Regions from separate parts of the Homo sapiens genome. Here region 2 is linked to region 1. Evidence: promoter capture Hi-C in 16 types of primary human blood cells and fetal thymus (Javierre and others, 2016). All regions are on one chromosome and are shown on one strand. Each heading gives the region's core, a stretch centred on a gene start or on the middle of the fragment in contact. The rest is flanking DNA. Distances are from core to core; before and after follow the strand shown.

What was found. The method cuts DNA at HindIII sites, captures the fragments that hold promoters and counts their contacts. A CHiCAGO score of 5 or more calls a contact.
Region 2: a fragment that was not itself captured here is called in contact with the fragment with the promoter of TRIAP1 in region 1 in 1 of 17 cell types (M1 macrophages); the score reaches 6.4 in M1 macrophages.

Annotation. Positions count from the first base shown.
Region 1 is chr12:120,444,486-120,448,179 of GRCh38, reverse strand. It overlaps TRIAP1 (TP53 regulated inhibitor of apoptosis 1), which reads left to right and starts at 1,796. Exons shown (of 2, transcript NM_016399.3): 1 at 1,796-1,954; 2 at 3,225-3,694. The coding sequence starts at 1,808. The coding sequence ends at 3,308. GATC (glutamyl-tRNA amidotransferase subunit C) reads right to left here and starts at 1,736. Exons shown (of 4, transcript NM_176818.3): 1 at 1,619-1,736; 2 at 1,351-1,523. The coding sequence starts at 1,699. RefSeq lists enhancers at 921-1,766, 1,600-1,894, 1,492-2,041, 1,256-2,455, 1,767-2,614. The HindIII fragment of the contact is 13,544 bases long and covers 1-3,172 here.
Region 2 is chr12:120,694,561-120,698,234 of GRCh38, reverse strand. It overlaps MLEC (malectin), which reads right to left. Exons shown (of 5, transcript NM_014730.4): 3 at 3,235-3,411; 4 at 3,083-3,140; 5 at 1-1,919. The coding sequence ends at 1,690. Among named protein-coding and RNA genes, the nearest start is that of MLEC, 9.2 kb to the right of the region's middle. The HindIII fragment of the contact is 186 bases long and covers 1,911-2,096 here.

The DNA.
Region 1 (3,694 bases), core at 547-3,046:
GAGGCTGAGGCAGGAGGATCTCTTGAGTCTAGAAGTTTGCGACCAGCCTGGGCAACATAGTGAGACCCCGTCCCAAAGGAAAAAGAAAATTGCAAAGTAGAGAAGACATTTGAAAGAATCAAACACGGCCAGGTGCTGTGGCTCATGCCTGTAATCCCAGTACTTTAGGAGGCTGAGATGGGTGGATCACCTTTGCTCAGGAGTCCAGACAAGCCTGGGGAACATGGCAAAATCCCGTCTCTATCAAAAATACAAAAAATTAGCCAGGCCAAGTGGCACGCGCCTGTGGTCCTGTACTTGGGAGGCTGAGATGGGAGGCTCTCTTGAGTCTGGGAGGTGGACATTACAATGAGCTGAGATCATGCCACTGCACTCTAACCTGGGTGATAGAGTGAGACTCCATCTCAAAAACAAATAAAATAAAAATTCAAGGCAGGAATAAAACAGTAACTACATAATGAGCTCACATTTTAATAAAAGAGATATAACAAATGAACAAAAGTCCATTAAAATGTTAGGGAAAAAACCCAATAGGATGAGTTACTAACTAGAAGGGGAGAAGGGATTTGGAGTGGTTAGGAGAGCCCTTTCTGAGAAGATAAGCTGAGACCTGTGCCAAGAGGGAGGCAGCCATGCAAATACTGAGAGGAAGGAAAAAAACGAAGGGCCAGTGCAGAGATCTAGAGAGGAAAAGAACTTGTCTTGCTGGAGAAGCAGTCAAGGTAGCCAAGGAGAGTACTGAGAAGAGTACGTTGGAGTGAGTAGGTAGGGACTCTATGGAGTAGGGCCTTAAAGGCGATGATTAGGCCAGGCGCGGTGGCTCACACCTGTAATCCCAGCACTTTGGGAGGCCGAGGCGGGTGGATCACGGTCAGGAGTTCAAGACCAACCTGGCCAAGATGGTGAAACCACGTCTCTACTAAAAATACAAAAAAAATAAGCCGGGCCTGGTGGCAGTCGCCTGTAATCCCAGCTACTCGGGAGGCTGAGGCAGAGAATTGCTTGAACACGGGAGGCGGAGGTTGCAGTGAGCCGAGATCGAGCCACTGCACTCCAGCCTAGGCAACACAGCGAGACTCCGTCTCAAAAAAAAAAAAACAAAACAAACAAACAAAAAAAAAAACAAAGGCAGTGATTAGCAGTTCGGGTTTTGTTTCCACTTACACTAGCGAGAGCATCAGTAATGAACAAGGGGAAGAGTGAAGCCACTGACTCGCGAGGTGACTGTGGGCAAGTTCCTGAATCTTGCTAACACTCTTTAACCCCCTGGAAAACTGTTCGCTAATCGTCACATTAAACGGCTGCGAACGGGCCACGGTCAAGGCTTCGGGGCTGCAGCCGCGAGTTTACCTGTCCTCCAGGACCGATTCCATGGGCTCCACCCCGTCTGTGTCCACGGCGCGTAGCCGGTCGGCGAAGGCGATAGCTTTCTCCAGTCGCGCCACTGCCTCGCGGCTGCCGAAGTCCACAAGCGCTAGACGCTCCAGGTGCTCGATCACCGCAGCCGTGATCCGGCCACTGCCCTGGAGGAGGGATGAGGCGGGGAGTGTGGGTCACCGGCGCTCCGAAGTGCCTCCCGGCTTGCTCCGCCACCCGCCTAGATGGCCCTGGCCTTTACCTGAGGATCCGCCTTGGAGGTGAAGCCCTGGCGCCCGCCCAGAGGGGCCCGAAGGCCCAGCCACACCAACCGCGACCACATTTCTTCCTTCCTTGGCCCCCGCAGTGCGCCCGCGCGTAACGCCGAGCGACGCGCCTGAGAGTGATGACATCAGAGTGCGCCGTCGTCGCCGCCGCCACCACTGTCGCCATGAACAGTGTGGGGGAGGCATGCACGGACATGAAGCGCGAGTACGACCAGTGCTTCAATCGCTGGTTCGCCGAGAAATTTCTCAAGGGGGACAGCTCCGGGGACCCGTGCACCGACCTCTTCAAGCGCTACCAGCAGTGTGTTCAGGTGAGCCCTCCCGCCTCTGTTCCCAGGCCCTGCATTCTCGGCGCTGTGTCCCACCACACTCATCGTATTTTACGGGGATTGGGACTGGACTGGAAGGGTGGAGAAAAGTCGCAGTGAGGCCAGTGGCAGGAGCTCGCTCCCCTACCATCACCACCGAGGCCACTTGGGTGTCTCTCCGAATGACAAATATTGGGGCAGTGCTTTTCAAGAAGCACAGTCACATCCTTTGGTTCATTTGGTGTTCACCCTAAACTCGCAAGGTGGGCATAGTTACTCATATTTTATACATAAAAAACTAACACCCAGAAATAGGAAGTGATTAATCCGAGTTCACTAGCATCAGGTTTCCTTGGTTCTTTCGCAGGTGGTGCACTTTTCCACTATTACTGCTGGGGTCTGGGCGGGATTATACTTCAGAATTCAGACTGGAGGGTCACATTTTTTTGTTGTTATAAACCCTTCGTTAGCCTGTTTCTCTCTCTTGACCAGTCCCCGCAACTGCAGCCAGGAAATGTTTATTCTGGCCCAATGGATGTGGAACTGCTTTGAATTGTTAAGAACAGCACCGGGCAAAGCACTTCCAATAAGTTAACCCAACACATCCTCACAGCAATTCCCCGAGGTAGTTGCTGTCTTCATCCCATTTACAGTTAGTCACATAGCCAGTAAGTCCTGGAACCCAGATTTGAACCTAAGTCTTTCACTAACACAAAGTGATGATTATTTTTCAAATTTCACTTAATTTTAACGGTTCCCTCACAACTCCTTTTCCAGTCTCCCTCAGGTCTTACACTTGATTTATTCATTATGGTACTTCTGGTTTTTATTTATTTTTGAGGCAGAGTCTCACTCTGTCTCCCAGCCTGGAGTGCAATGGCACAATCTCAGCTCACTGCAACCTCCGCCTCCCAGGTTCAAGCTATTCTCATGCCTCAGCCACCCGAGTAGCTGGGCTTACAGGCATGCGCCACCATGCCCAGCTAATTTTTGTATTTTTAGTATAAACAGGGTCTCGCCATGTTGGCCAGGTTGGTCTCTAACTTCTGGCCTCAAGTGATCCACCTGCCTTGGTCTCCCAAAATGCTGCGATTATAGGCGTGAGCCACCACACCTGACCGGTACTTGTTTTTTAAAAAGTATGTGGTTTGAATCATGGTTATAAGTCTTTATAATCAGCTTGATTTTACTTTTGTACTGTCATATTTTATTTACAAAGCTTGCAACTTAAGCTTCATGTAGGTCTTTATAATGTGTTTTCTCCTCCTACCAGAAAGCAATAAAGGAGAAAGAGATTCCTATTGAAGGACTGGAGTTCATGGGCCATGGCAAAGAAAAGCCTGAAAATTCTTCTTGACCTTGACAGTCACCTTGAAGGATTTCGCAAGTCCAGAAATTGAGGACTCTGGATTTTTGTCAACTAACTCTGTGAACATAGCCATCAGATTTGATGAGGAACTTAGGAGAGAGGAGTTTTATTTCCTCCTTCGATGTTTTCCTCTCAGTTGTAAAAGATGAACTCTTTGAGATGATTTCTCACCTGCTGTGGTATCTTGCAGGAACTGTGTGCTAAAATTGAACAATTTTTTTGAGATTATGGTTGCAATACTTGGCGTGGAATCAGCTTTACATAAATATACCTTGTATGCAAACGATGATAAACTAGTCAGGATGAGCAGAGCTGCCTGACCTCTTGATTTCTGCTGCAAAAGACATATACACTGTACTGGGGTCACTATTTAT
Region 2 (3,674 bases), core at 754-3,253, 250 kb before region 1:
AGCTCTTAAAAAACATATCTAATAAAGCAAACTCAAAATTAAACACATTCTAGAAAAGCGGGCCTGGCCTGAGATCCTATATTGACTGCTCCAGCCCAAGCTGAAGCTAATCCTGCTGTCTCCCATCCACAAAATTCCTTCTAGCTTGGCTGGGTCCTCCTTCATTGTTGCCCTAACTGGGAAATGGATGACAATGGCCAGAAAGGAGGGGACCAGGGAAGCTTCATTTCCTATAGAAATTTTTTCAGGGAATTCAAGATCGACACTTAGATGCTAAGGTTAGCTTCAGAGCTGCCAAGGCTCTGGCTGACTGGAATTCTTTCAGTCCCATCACACCAAGAACCTGACTGCTACTTGGATAGAGAAATGAAAGGACAGGGGAAGGAGGGGCATACTATTAAGATCAATAAGAAGCATCGCTGGGCCTATATAGCTAATTAGTCTAGTTCCTTGAAGTAGCTCTAGGCATAAACCAAAACTGGCTGAACTGTGACACACAAGAACATGGGAATAAATGAACATCAGATACCAGACACTCTAAACAGTGGTCAGTCACTTAGTAGGGCTCAAATCTCTGAGGTTGCTCTTAAGCTATGCTAACATAAGCCTTTTCTAATCCAAAGACCAGAAGAGACTTTTAAGGTCAAGTGTTCTGTTGCTGCAGGCTGGAAAGCATCCCTGCCCCCTGGCAGCAAGGCCCTACAAAGGGGCCAGTAAAGAACTGCTGGGTCAGGTCCTCCTGGCTGCTGGCTCAGAGATCCAGGGAGGGAGGTACCAACAAGGTGAGGTGGTAAAGGAGAAGACATTCAAGCAGAGAACCCCAAATCCCCGTGTCTCCTTCCCTTCTTGGCTATAACTTAGTGGGATGGTTGAGAGGGAGAAGAAATTTCAAATGAGCCAGATTAAGGAAACAAACAAACAAACAAAACTGAGAAGAAATCAAGTCCCCAACAGGCACTGAAATCAAAATGATTTGTTGTGGTAACAAGTCAGAGGCGATCTGAGGACCCGACATAACCGAAACGTCTTGGATGCTGGACAGTCTATAACTGGCACATGCCAGGGAGACAAGCAATGACAAAGCTCAAACACTAAAGGTGGGACCATCACTGGATTAATCCAGAAAGGCTTCCAGATAAGGAAGCATTTTCTTTCTTTTTTTTTAATCTCCCTACTTTTTTTTTTAAGTCTTTACCGCACAAATTCTACCCCTTCACACACATTCTTTCAATCCCAGGACGTCTGAAGTCTTATCTAGACATAACTTCAGACCGTACCTAACTCCCAGTGCTGGTCGTCTCAGGTAATAAGATGGCATTTCCCTGCTGTTAATTTCTAACCTAAAAAAAGGAACAGTGACTCCTCTGAGTTCAGAGTCCTTTCCACTAGGTATACAAATGAGGATCCTTGAGCAGGAAGGATCCAGTTTACCCTAAGTATCCTCAAGAGGAAAGAGAAGGCTGGGAGCCAGCCACAAAGAGAGGACGAGGACTGAAGCACGTCTGGGACCAGGTGGTGAATGAGGGCTGCTCTCTACTCGCTCTGCCTCTTTTTGTCTCCTTTAATTGATGTGTGTTTTTTTCTCTTTGTTTTTGTTCATTAATCATTGTGAAAAATACAGAAACCAAAACCAATATGGCTGGTTTCTTTCCCACACCCCTCCACCCTGTTCAGGATAGTCATTTGTTCTCACAACCGGCAGAGGCAGAAGAGGGTTGGAATGAAGACTCCGAAGGCCACCAGGATGGGAAACATGAGGCTGCTGTTGTCCGAGGCATAGGGGTTGGGTGTGCGGGGGCCTGACTGCACCCGGTTCTTATTGGTCTGTTTTTTGAGATTAGACCCTTCATCATATTCTTCTTCTTCTTCTTCCTCTTCTTTCTTCTCCAATCCCGGATGAGGCTGAAGCTTTGGTACATCTAACACAAGGAAGAAAACACTGTTAAGACCCACAGCATTTAAGTAAGAGAGACCCTTAAAAGCAGCAAATAAGCCACAATAAAGAGATTGCTGTGATTGAACCCGGGTCCAGAGAAAAGACCAGAAGTAGCAGAAATAGCCTCTGGTCTACAGAACAGCAGAGTGCTGCAAAAGCTTTAGATTTAACTAGAAAGTAGAAAAAGCCGTGCTCATAGGGAGGTTCACTATCTTACCTTCCTGTTCTACTTTTACAGAGCCCCAAGATAACCAGACTGGACAGGGACAATGATCCAATGCCTAAACTTTAGCCTTTTCAAATCCCTCCTCCTCCCACAAGCCCACATTCCCTTTTGATTCACACAACAACTGAAGAAACGTTGACCCAGAGAGTTCTGGGTTCCCAGCACACACTATCCCTCTGTCCTGCCTCCTCCTCAGGGACTTGAACACAGGTCTGTTTGGTGGTAAGACATTCATCCTCCTAGATGTCATAATATCAGCATTTGGGGGACATCAAGACAACAGGATGAAATCCTCAGTGCATTCAAGATTGAGTTGGGGAAAGGTACAGAGGTGGAATGGGGGAGAAATGTCACAAAGACGCAGCTTTCTCTGCAAAAATCAGCCTGAGATGCTGGCAGCCAGGAGAATCTAAACCCTGAGAAAGAAATATACTCTAAGACTTGATCCCAAGGATAAGGAGACATAAATAAGTGAAGTTTTGTCCCAGTGCAGTCCAGCAATGCTGGAATCTTTCAGAGCATACCAAAAGCCTACAGGACTCCTCCTTTTACCTTTTTTTCCCCTAGGAAAGAGATGTCAAACAAACAGAATAAGGACAAGTTTTAGGTGATCCCAAATGACTACAAAGGTCAGGGTACACCAATAGGTACCATTATTAATCCCAATTTATAGGGAAATTAAAAGCATCCATCCAAGACAAACATCTGATTAAATGGCAGCAACAAGATATACATAGACCTGACTCCAAAGCTTGTGGCTAGTACCATGTTATGCTTCATCCTTATCCAACTGATTCTGAATCCCCTACAATTTAGCTTTAAGTGTTTCCAAAATAGTCATCAGCTCAATTACCTCCCAAGGGCTTCCTCAACCATATCCCTCCACTCAAGTCAAAAAAGCAGGTCAGAACACAACCTACCATCCACTGTCCCAGCCATGATGTAGAGTGCACAGACCTTGGGATTGTCATAGTACCCCTAGGAAAAGGGAAACAGTGGTCAACCCCACACAGCAGCAAACAACTTCCCCTGTACCCACTCTCTTCAGCAATGGGCAGAATAGGGGAATTACCTTGACAAACTCAATGTAGAGTTTCCCTGTGAAGGTGGACACCTCCCCCTGGACACTCAGCTTCCCCTTTCTGATGCTCATAGGTATAATTTCATCGTGAGCTGTGCTATGCCCAACACGATCAAAGATATCCAAGTCCTTCACCACGACGTGGCCATTCAATCGTACATCAAATACCTTCCAGGATAAGAAAAGAAAACAATGTCAAAACCATCAGCTTTACATCCTTTCAAGCAGTTGGACATCATGCACGTGTTTGGGCTTGAAGTTCAAAAATAATTTAAGAAATGATGGGTCTGGATATCCAGGGTGGTTAGCATCCTTAACCCGGGTCAAATCAAAGCCGTGTTCCTTCACTGCCCAGGAGTTCTTATATTGGCTTTAAGGAACAAAGAATACAAACAAAAAGCTTAGCATAGGAAGAAGGAAATTCACAGGAA